Regions from separate parts of the Homo sapiens genome. Here region 1 is linked to region 2. The links are contacts of gene promoters, found by promoter capture Hi-C in blood cells and fetal thymus (Javierre and others, 2016). All regions are on one chromosome and are shown on one strand. The core of a region is centred on a gene start or on the middle of the fragment in contact, and the rest is flanking DNA. Distances in the headings are between cores, read along the strand shown. Region 1 overlaps CRYBG2 (crystallin beta-gamma domain containing 2). Region 2 holds the start of FAM110D (family with sequence similarity 110 member D).

Evidence for each region. Contacts are between HindIII fragments. The CHiCAGO score rates a contact against its expected background, and 5 or more counts as called.
Region 1: a fragment that was not itself captured here is called in contact with the fragment with the promoter of FAM110D in region 2 in 1 of 17 cell types (neutrophils); the score reaches 5.3 in neutrophils.

Annotation. Positions count from the first base shown.
Region 1 is chr1:26,343,543-26,348,517 of GRCh38, reverse strand. CRYBG2 (crystallin beta-gamma domain containing 2) reads left to right here. Exons shown (of 20, transcript NM_001039775.4): 2 at 1,806-4,773. The coding sequence starts at 1,861. Among named protein-coding and RNA genes, the nearest start is that of CRYBG2, 8.1 kb to the left of the region's middle. RefSeq lists an enhancer at 1,438-2,191. The HindIII fragment of the contact is 5,833 bases long and covers 1-4,745 here.
Region 2 is chr1:26,155,707-26,160,592 of GRCh38, reverse strand. It overlaps FAM110D (family with sequence similarity 110 member D), which reads right to left and starts at 1,514. Exons shown (of 2, transcript NM_024869.3): 1 at 1,467-1,514. RefSeq lists enhancers at 3,240-3,969, 3,970-4,699, 4,700-4,886. The HindIII fragment of the contact is 9,541 bases long and covers 1-4,886 here.

The sequences.
Region 1 (4,975 bases), core at 580-3,079, 190 kb before region 2:
TGCAGTGACACGATCATAGCTCATTGCAGCCTGGGCTCAAGTGATCCTCCCACCTCAGCCTCCAGGGTAGCTAGGGCTACAGGCACACACCACCATGCTGGCTAATTCTTTTAATTTTTTGTAGAGACTTGTAGAGTCTTTTTATGTCACCTAGGCTGGTCTAGAACTGCTGGCCTCAAGCAATCCTCCCACCTCTGCCTCCCAAAGTTCTGGGATTACAGGTGTGAGCCACTGCATCCAGCTCTGAGAGGCTCCATTTAGACCTACACTTGCACACAGACCTGCCCCTGTGCTCTGGAGACCATCAGCAGGTGCTCATGCCCATACACACGTGTGCACACCAGCTAACATTTGGTCACAAATCTCCAAGGTGACAGCAGAAAGTTGATGAGCCAGCAATTTAGGTTATAAGGCGAGCATTTTGGGTGTGGTGGCATGTGCCTGTAGTCCCAATTACTTGGAGAGTTAACGCAGAAGGATCACTTCAGCCCAGGAGTTCAAGGCTACAGTGAGCTACTGCACTTCAACCTGGGCAACAGAGCAAGACTCAGTCTTATAAAATAAATTAAAATAAAAAGATAAAAAGTTAGGCCAGGCACAGTAGTGGCATATATCCATAATCCCAACATTTTGGAAGGCCAAGGTGGGAGGATCACTTCAGCCCAGGAGTTCGAGACCAGCATGGGCAACATAACAAGACCTCAAAGTACAAAATAAAAACTAGCTGGGGCTGGGCACGGTGGCTCACACTTGTAATCCGAGCACTTTGGGAGGCCAAGACGGGTGGATCATGAGGTCAGGAGATCAAGACCATCCTGGCTAACACGGCGAAACCCCGTCTCTACAAAAAATACAAAAAAATTATCTGGGCGTGGTGGAGGGCACCTGTAGTCCCAGCTACTTGGGGAGGCTGAGGCAGGAGAATGGCGTGAACCAGGGATGTGGAGCTTGCAGTGAGCCGAGATCATGCCACTGCACTCCAGCCTAGGTGACAGAGCGAGACTCTGTCTCAAAAAAAATAAATAAATAAAAATAAAAATAAATAAATAAATAAAAACTAGCTGGGTGTGGCGGCGTGTGCCTGTAGTCCCAGCTACTTGGGAGGCTGAGGCAGGAGGATCACTTGAGCCCAGGAGTTCAAGGCTGCAGTGAGCTAAGATCATACCACTGCACTCCAGCCTGGGTAACAGAGTGAGATTCTGTCTCACAAAAAAAAAAAAAAAAAAAAAAAAACGCAGGGGGAGGTTTCATTGTTTCTCTTACTGGACTCTGGCAAGACTCCAGTTTTGTGGCTGAGGACCCTGATGCTTGAACAGAAGAAATGGCCAGTTAGTGAGCAACTAAGGAACCCAGCTCTGCTTGAGGCCAAAGCCCATCTTCCCTGAACAGAGTTAGAACAACGCTTGCCCAGTTTTCGGCTTTCTAGTTTTCAGCTCCTGGGGGACTAGACCTAGGGCTCTGTGGGCAGAGTCCCAGCCCCCCTATAGACCTGTGGGTCAGCTGCATCTTCCCTTCTGCCTTCTTCCTTTTCTCTCCTTCTGGGCTCAGGCCTCAGCTTCACCTTTGAAGGACCCTGACCTAGGAGATCACCTGAAAGTCAGGGAGAGGGATGGATGAGGGGCTCTGATCAACCAAATCAGAGCTGAGACTACCATGCCCATTTCACAGATGAGAAAGCAATGGCCCAAAAAGGCCAAGCGATTTGCCTGAGGTTCCCAGCCTGACTTGGGTAGGGGTGGTTATTCTGCACTTTAGGAAGCCACTCTCACCACCCTCTGACCCTCATCTTTCTTATTCCTCTGCAGGGAGCTGGACCACAGTGGGACAAGGACACCTCCAGACAGGTTGCCAGGGCCCCACATGGAGGAGGCAGGTGGGCCCATGGCCCGGGCCAAGGCCCGAGTGGTAAGTGCCACATTGACATGGCGGCAGCGGCCCCCCACCCAGGAAGAGATCAAACATGGTTTTCACAAGGTGTCCCTGGTGTCAGGGGCCCAGATGGAAGCCCCGCAGAAGGAGATGTTTGAGTTCAGCCGTCGAGAGGAAGTGGAAGTCAATGGCTTTGCAACACAGGAAGAAGAGACTGTGAATTGCCAGGGCCCTCGGGATACAGCTGGCTCCAAGAACTTCCAGAGCCATGGACCCATCTTTTCCAAGAAGTACATACCACCTCCCAAGGAGAAAAGGCCTGAGGGGAGGCTGAAGGAGGCTGTGGACCAGAGTGATGGCAGCCGCCAAGCTCCCAGGACTGAGCCCCCATGTGTGGGAGCTATGGCCAGGACTGAGCTTTTGGTTCCCCTGCCTGGGCCCCGAGAGCCAAGTCCCCACCCAGGTGTAGGTCTCACCAGTGGTAGCTCCCGGAGCCTCGAGGAATACCGAGTGACACGCACTGTGCGGACCACCACAGTGGTGGGAGGTCATGTGGACCGGCGGATGAGCAGCTCTGTGACTGTGAGGCCAGTGTCCTCAGGCGAGGCCCTGCCACGGGGCCGTCAGGTCTCCCGCATGGTGCCGCCAGTGGTGGTGGGCTCCCCACCAGGCTCGCCCAGCCGCAGCCAGGCCGTGAAAGTGCTAAGTAACCTCGTGCCTGCTGGGCACAGCCCCCCTGCCAGTCACCTGCCCAGGCCCACGGCTGGCGGGCCAAGGAGCACAGGTCTGGGCAGCACAGTGGGGGCAGCCTTGAGGCAGCTGCCTGAGACCGGGACAGCAGAGCTTAAAGACAGCTCTGCCCTGGCCTCTACAGGCATCCCAGCCAGTGCTCACCTGCCTAAGAATCAGGATGCCCCTGCAGCCTGTCCGGACAGAGACCAGGGCAGAGCCCCGGATGCCAGGGCCTGTGAGCTCTGGCAGGTGCTGGGAGCCCCCAGTTCCACTGAGCTCCCTCTCCAGACTTCTCAGGGTCAAGCATCAGTCCCCTCCTCTCCCAGACTCGAGACCCATGTCCCCTCTCCTGGCCTAACTCACCCTGCAAAGCAGCCTGTGGTGCCCACTCACCCCGGGGCCCGGCTCACTCCCCTTGTTCTGCCCCCTAAAAAAAAGGACGGGCCCGTGGACCCCCCTGCTGCCACCGTCCTGCCCATGGTGAGGAGCGAGCATGTGACAGTCCCTGGACAACCTCCTGCTCCATCCACTACAAGAAGGAAGGATGTCCCCAGCCCAGGAGGTCTTTCTGCTCCATCGTCCCCAAGGAATAAGTTTGTTCAGAACTCTGAAAATGTCCCTGTCCTCCCCTTTACCCAGAGGGAGGTCGTGAAGGGCCCCGGTGCTCCTGCTGCCTCATCTCCCACCCGGAAGGAGGTGGTGCAGGGGTCCAGTGCTTCTGCTGCCTCGTCCCCCACCTGGAAAGAGGTCGTGAAGGGCCCTGGTGCTCCTGCTGCCTCATCTCCCACCCAGAAGGAGGTGGTGCAGGGGTCCAGTGCTCCTGCTGCCTTGTTCCCCACCTGGAAAGAGGTCGTGAAGGGCCCCGGTGCTCCTGATGCCTCATTTCCCACCTGGAAAGAGGTTGTGAAGGGCCCTGGTGCTCCTGCTGCCTCATCCCCCACCCAGAAGGAGGTGGTGCAGGGGTCTGGTGCTCCTGCTGCCTTGTCCACCACCCCAAAAGAGGTTGTGAAGGGCCCTGGTGCTCCTGCTGCCTCATCGCCCACCCAGAAAGAGGTTGTGAAGGGCCCCTGTGCTCCTGCTGCCTCATCTCCCACCCAGAAGGAGGTGGTGCAGGGGTCTGGTGCTCCTGCTGCCTTGTCCCCCAAGTCAACTGAGGTTGTCCAGGGCCCAAAAGGCAGCAGTAGCATCCAAAAAGAGGCTGTCCAGGGTATTGCAGGCAGCCTTGCCCCGCCCCTCACCAAGGAAGAGACTGTTCAAGGCCCAATTGCTCCTGCCACCTCACTCCCCAAACAGGATAAGGGGGTCCAGGACTCTGAAGGGAGCCCCATCTCATCTCTCACCCAGAAAGAGGTTGTGCAGGACCCTGATGCTCTCCCTGCCCCATCTTCCTCAGTGGACAGGGTGTCCCCCAGCCCAGGAGGCACCCCTGCCCCAGTGCCAACAGGAGCAGAGGCCAGCACGGAGTCCCAGCTTGTCTCTGATCCCACCGAGGGCAAGACGTGCACAGAGACATCAAGGGAGGAGGATGAGGTGGCCCTGGCCGCTGACCTGGAGATATTCCTGGATACGCTGCGGAGCATGGAGCCCCCTGAGATCCTCCGCACTCACCGGCTGCCACGAGCCCCTCGCTCCTCCTACCTGTCCATGTACGCCACGCTGCCTGCCATTGAGGAGGACCAGCTGGGGCCATGGGTGCTGGGCCCCGGACCCCAGGAGGTGCCTTCACTGGAAGAGAAAGAGGAGGAGGAGGAGGAGGAACCAGAGAACCCCTATCTGAGTGACGATGAGAAGCTCCAGCGCAGGCAGGAGAAAGCTGGGCCCAGCCCCTCCAGGGACCTCCACCCTGCCAGACCCACCCAGGTCTCCTGCTCTCCTCTGGAGATGATGAAGAAGCATGTAGCAGGAACCAAGGGCCCCCACTCAGAGCTGGGATTGGAACTGCAGGGAGGCAGCAGGCCCACTTCCCGTCTTGGAGGCAGCCTTCTGTTCGGCAGTCTGGTGCCTACCGCCAAGGAGGCCTCCACCCCGGAACCGCTGGGCACAAAACTATCTGCTCTGCTGCCCCATGGGGCACCGGGGCTCAGGAAGGTGCCAGGACAGTTGCCCCTGCTTTGCAGTGAAAGATCATCCCCAACGGAGAAGCTTGCCTGTTCCCTGCCCCTGGAGGGGTGGGTAAGTGAGGCCTCGGGTGGGCAAGGGAGGTGCCTGGCCTCACCTGGGTCAAGGCTTGAGTGGTGTGAAGAGAGTGGTGCTGGGAGTCAGAGTCTGGGGGCAGAGGCTTCTGTCTGAAGTCTGGTTCAGTTGACCTGTGCAAGCCACATCTCTCTGGGCCTCAATCTCCCTATCCCTATCCCTACTGTGGGAGGTTTGTACT
Region 2 (4,886 bases), core at 265-2,764:
TGCATTTCCATTTCATGAAGAGGAAACTGGCTTGGAGAGGAGGGGGGCTTGCTCAGGTCCTATTGAGAGTTAGGAGCCAGGACTGGAACCCAGGTTTCTTTTTTTTTTTTCTTTAGACGGAGTCTTGCTTTGTCACCCAGGTTTCTTGCCTTGCAGTTCAGATTGGATCTCTCACTTGCCTATCAGAACTTCCCACTGAGGCCAGGCGCGATGGCTCATGCCTGTAATCCCAGCACTTTGGGAGGCCGAGGTGGGTGAATTACCTTAGGTGAGGAGTTCCAGACCAGCCTGGCCAACATGGCAAAACCCCATCTCTACTGAAAATACAAAAATTAGCCAGGCGGGGTGGCGCACACCTGTAATCCCAGCTACTTGGGAAGCTGAGGCAGGAGAATCGCTTGAAGCTGGGAGGCGGAGGTTGCAGTGAGCCGAGATCGCGCACCACTGCACTCCAGCCTGGGCAACAGAGCGAGACTCCGTCTCAAAAAAAAAAAAAGAAAAAAAAAAAGAACTCACTGATATTTTGCGTGTATTCCCGCTGCTATAAAACCAAGCAATTTCCGTTAGAAATGGGCCCCTTGCCTCACTAAAAAGTTCCTTCCACTAATTCTTCCTAATAACCTGCGCTCCCACTCCCAGAAATTTGCCCCCAGGGTCCTTGTCCCTTTTTTATCCTAAGACCTCATGACCCTTTTCCACCTCCCTTCTGCTGGGGCAAGGAGCGAGGAGGGGTTGTAAATCAAGAGCTGACAGTTCTCTTGGCAGTAACAGAATGGGCCACCCACATGGCCCTGCACACCCGACCCCACCCCTATCTTCCCCTACTCCCCCTGAGTCCTGGAGGCTGAGGGACCTTGGATCTGGGGACAACAAAGGAACAGAATTAGCCAGGGAAGTGGGGAAGGAGTCTGTGAGAGGCCTTGGGGCAGAGACCCTGCCAGGTCCAGCCCACCCCTGCACCCAGCATCTAGTGTGTAGTCAGTCTGCTCATAGGTAGTTGAGGCCTGGGAACCAAGGAGAGTCTGGCAGTGTCCCCCTCCCTGTCTCCCAGGGAGTCTCCTTGGCAGTGGGTCAGATTCCAAGGTCCCAGGAAGGCACTGCTTGTCTGACCCCATGGGTGCCCTCTGTCCTCTCCTCTTCTCCCCAGCCCTGAGCAGGGAGACTATAAAAAGTTCCTAATCACAAGGACCAAAATAGTCTGTCATCCACAGCCTCTTCCCTGCCTTCTGGGCTAGCCTGGAGGCCGGACCTCAGACATCCCGCCCTAGAAGCCTGGCAGGCAGCCTCGGGCCCTCCATTCCTTTGCCTGCCTTCTCCCAGTCCTGAAACTTGTGGTCTCAACTCTGCCCAAGGCTTCTGCTCTGGGCATGGGCCATCTTTTAGGCTCACTAGTTTGGCACCAGTCTCCCTGCCCTCAGGCCCCTGGGTTCCTTCTTACCCCAGCCCTGGGCTCAGGGTACACTCACCTCTGCATGGGAGGCCTAATTGCAGGGGTCCTTGGGCAGGTCCAGACTGAGGGCAGGAGTGGACAGCAAGGACTAGAAGTAACTTTGGTGGCAGCCAAACCTCACTCTCCACAGGAAAAGCAGAGAAAGCCTCCACCCCCCGCCCCCCAAATTAACCCTCGCCTTCCTGAGGCAGATCCTGGCCTCCATTAACTCTTTCCTGATCACAGTCCTGCGCTGTGGAGACCTGTGAACCAAGTCCAGCTCCTTTTATTTTACAGATGGTCAAACAGTCCCAGCCCGGTTAGGTGATTGGCTGTGGAAGCACTGTGAGCTTGGGCAGAGCCAGGACTCCAAACAAGGCCTCCTGATCCCCAGGCTTCCTCCAAAGGCCTGGGGTGGGGGCTCCGTATGTGGGATCAGCCCCCTCCCTGGGCTGTGGCAGATGCTCTGACAGTCTGAATGGGAAGGCAGAACAGGGTTCTAGTCAACTTGCTTTTTTCCCTCTGTAGCAGGCTGAGACCTGTCTTGGTCTGGGTGCTGGGTGGTGTCAAGCCTGCTTTCCCTGGGGGCGAGACCAGGAATCTGCAGCCTAAGGGTGGGGGCATTGGTGCTATAGATGTGCAGGTGAGCCTGTGGCGGCAAGTCTTGTCATGAAGGTGACCCTGGAGCCCACTGGAGCTGCCTCTGCCAAGGTCCTTTCATGGCAGATGGGATTGCCTGGGAAGACAGTGATGAGGGGCTGATTCCAGGGCCAAGCCCAGGTCCTTTGGCCCGCTTCCTTCTCTGCCCACACTTGGAGCCTCTTAGAGCTTCTTCCATCAGAGTTTCTTCTCTGACACCTTATGTCTCAAGGTGAAACCCTACCTCATAGGAGACACCTCCCCTCTCCCCAGCAGGCAAACTAAACTCTCCAGCCCAGACTAAGACCAGTGCTCAGGCCAAAGGTTCCTTTCCCCCCTTGGCTGGCCACCTTCCCCAAGTCCCTCCTCCTCCTTTCTAGCCCTCTTTCATGTTTGCAAAGCACATTCCCGTCTGTGCTCTCTGATCTCCTTTGACCGCCCCCAAACAAGGACCCTAGACAGGCGTCCAGCAGGAATGACCCCCCACTTAATGAGTAAGGAAACAGGAGCTGAGGGGGGAGAGAGATGCCCAAAGCCCAGCTCCAAATCCACATTTGGAACTGCATCCTCTGCCTGTCAAGTCAGTAGTGGGTCTGAAAACCCAAGGCCCATCTCCCGGTAAAAGGTTTTTATTACCTAAAGGGGGGATTTTGTTGGTGATAGTTCCATATTTTGTTGCTACAGCACTTTTCAAAATGCCATTAGCTGCTTTGTCATAATCCCCATGACAATCTTTGGGGGAGGTTTTATTATTTTTCACACTTACGGCTGAAGAGACTGAGGCTCAGAGAGGAGAAATGACTTATCCAAGCTCACCAAACTCTGTCACCCAGGCTGGAGTGCCGTGACGTGATCTTGGCTCACTGCAACCTCCGCCTCCTGGGTTCAAGCGATTATCCTGCCTCAGCCTCCCGAGTAGCTGGGATAACAGGCAAGTGCCTGGCTAATTTTGTGTTTTTAGTAGAGACAGGGTTTTACCATGTTGCTCAGGCTGATCTTGAACTTCTGACCTTGCGATCTGCCGGCCTCGGCCTCCCAAAGTGCTGGGATTACAGGTGTGAGCCACCTCTCCCGGCCAATAGCTAACTTTTATTGAGAGATTAATATATGTTAGGGGCTATTCTAAGTACCTCACATAAGGATTAACATATTTAATCCTCAAAACAACCCGATGAAATGGCACTTTCGGGCCGGGCGAGGTGGCTCACACCTGTAATCCCAGCACTTTGGGAGGTGAAGGCGGGCCGATCACTTGAGGCCAGGAGCTGGAGACCAGCCTGGCCAACACGGCGAAACCCTGTCTCTACTAAAAATACAAAAATTAGCTGGGCGTGGTGGTGCGCTCCTGTAATCTCAGCTACTAGGGAGGCTGGGGCAGGAGAATCACTTGAACCCAGGAGGCGGAGGTTGCAGTGAGCCAAGATCACACCACTGCACTCCAGCCTGGGTGACAAAGCTGCAAAAAAGAAAAACAAAAAAAGTCACTTTCATTCTCCTAACTTTCTAGGTGAAGGCTGAGGGTGCCAGCTTGGCTCTGAGATCTGGTCAGGAAGGGGTTAAGCATGGGAGGTGGGCAGGGCCAGCTGGGATGCTGTCAATGGCAGGAAACCTGGCCCGCCGCCTGGGGGGAGGATGGGGCTGTTGTGTCTGACTCTGCAACCCCCATCCCTTTGGTCTTAAAGGAGCATCCAGGTTGGGTGGTAGGACCGGTAGGGGCCCCTTCACAGCTCCCTTCTAGGGATCGAGGACAGATGCTGGACTACAGAAAGAGGGGACTCAGGGTGCAACGCAGGTGACACCCTGGGGCAGCTCTGGTCTGACAAGGGTGACTCAGTCCTCCACGCCAAAGCCCTCAGTCGGAAGTGCCCCCACCTCTGCTCGGGAGGGTTTTGTCAGGGAGGGGAGACAGCCCCAGCTCTGGGAGCCCCCAGTGAGACAGAAGTGGCACAGCTCTGCCCTCAGGGATCTCTGGTGGGGGCTGGGGGAGGGCTAAGCAGCCTTGCTCTCAGGAGCTGTCAGTGTGAGGGCAACAGACCCCTACCCTGATGCCAATGGACAGAATCCTGGGAGACAGGCACAGACCTTCCACCCTGTGGGCAGCGCAGGGTCAGGGAGGAGAGGTCAAATTGGATCGGCTTTCTGGGTAAGGGGGCCCTGAAAAAGTCAGCAGAGGAGAGGGGAGGTGGGGGCGGATGAGAAGATGAGGTGGGCTGCATCTATCTGGCCTCGGCTCCCAGCCACCCTCGCCATGAACCGGACCGTCCCTGTTTCTGGTTGTGGGTCCCCTGGGACTACCTTAAAGTAGCTCTTTCCGGCCCTAGAGCCAGGACCTCAGGCAAGGGGGAAGCGAGTCTTGGGGTGTTTCCTTCCTACTTCCTGCCTCATTCCCAGATCACCTTGGGGATGGAGATCGGGAATGGGCCTGAGTCAGAACGTCTCCTTCCAGGAGAGGGTGGTGGAAGGATGGGGGAGCAGCTCTGGTCAGTGTCGGGAATAACCAGCCAGGTCAGGGAGGCCTTCAGATCCAGTCTCACATCCCATGCCCACATTGTCACGGAGGAAACGTGTGTCACCCCCTTCACTAGCTGGCTACAGCCCCCACACCTCAGCCCTACCTTTGATTCCAGCCCTAGTCTACCTCTCGCTGGCTGTGTGGGCTTGAGCAAGAACTTAACCTCTCTGAGTTTCCTTCTGTGTCAGGCGGGAATGGTGAGACCCAGCTCCTGTGTGGCTTGGAGATGCAGGGAAGTGGAGCCTGCAACCAACCGCAAGGTGCTCTGGAATGTGGGGCCTGCAATCCGCAAGGTGCAAGTTAGAT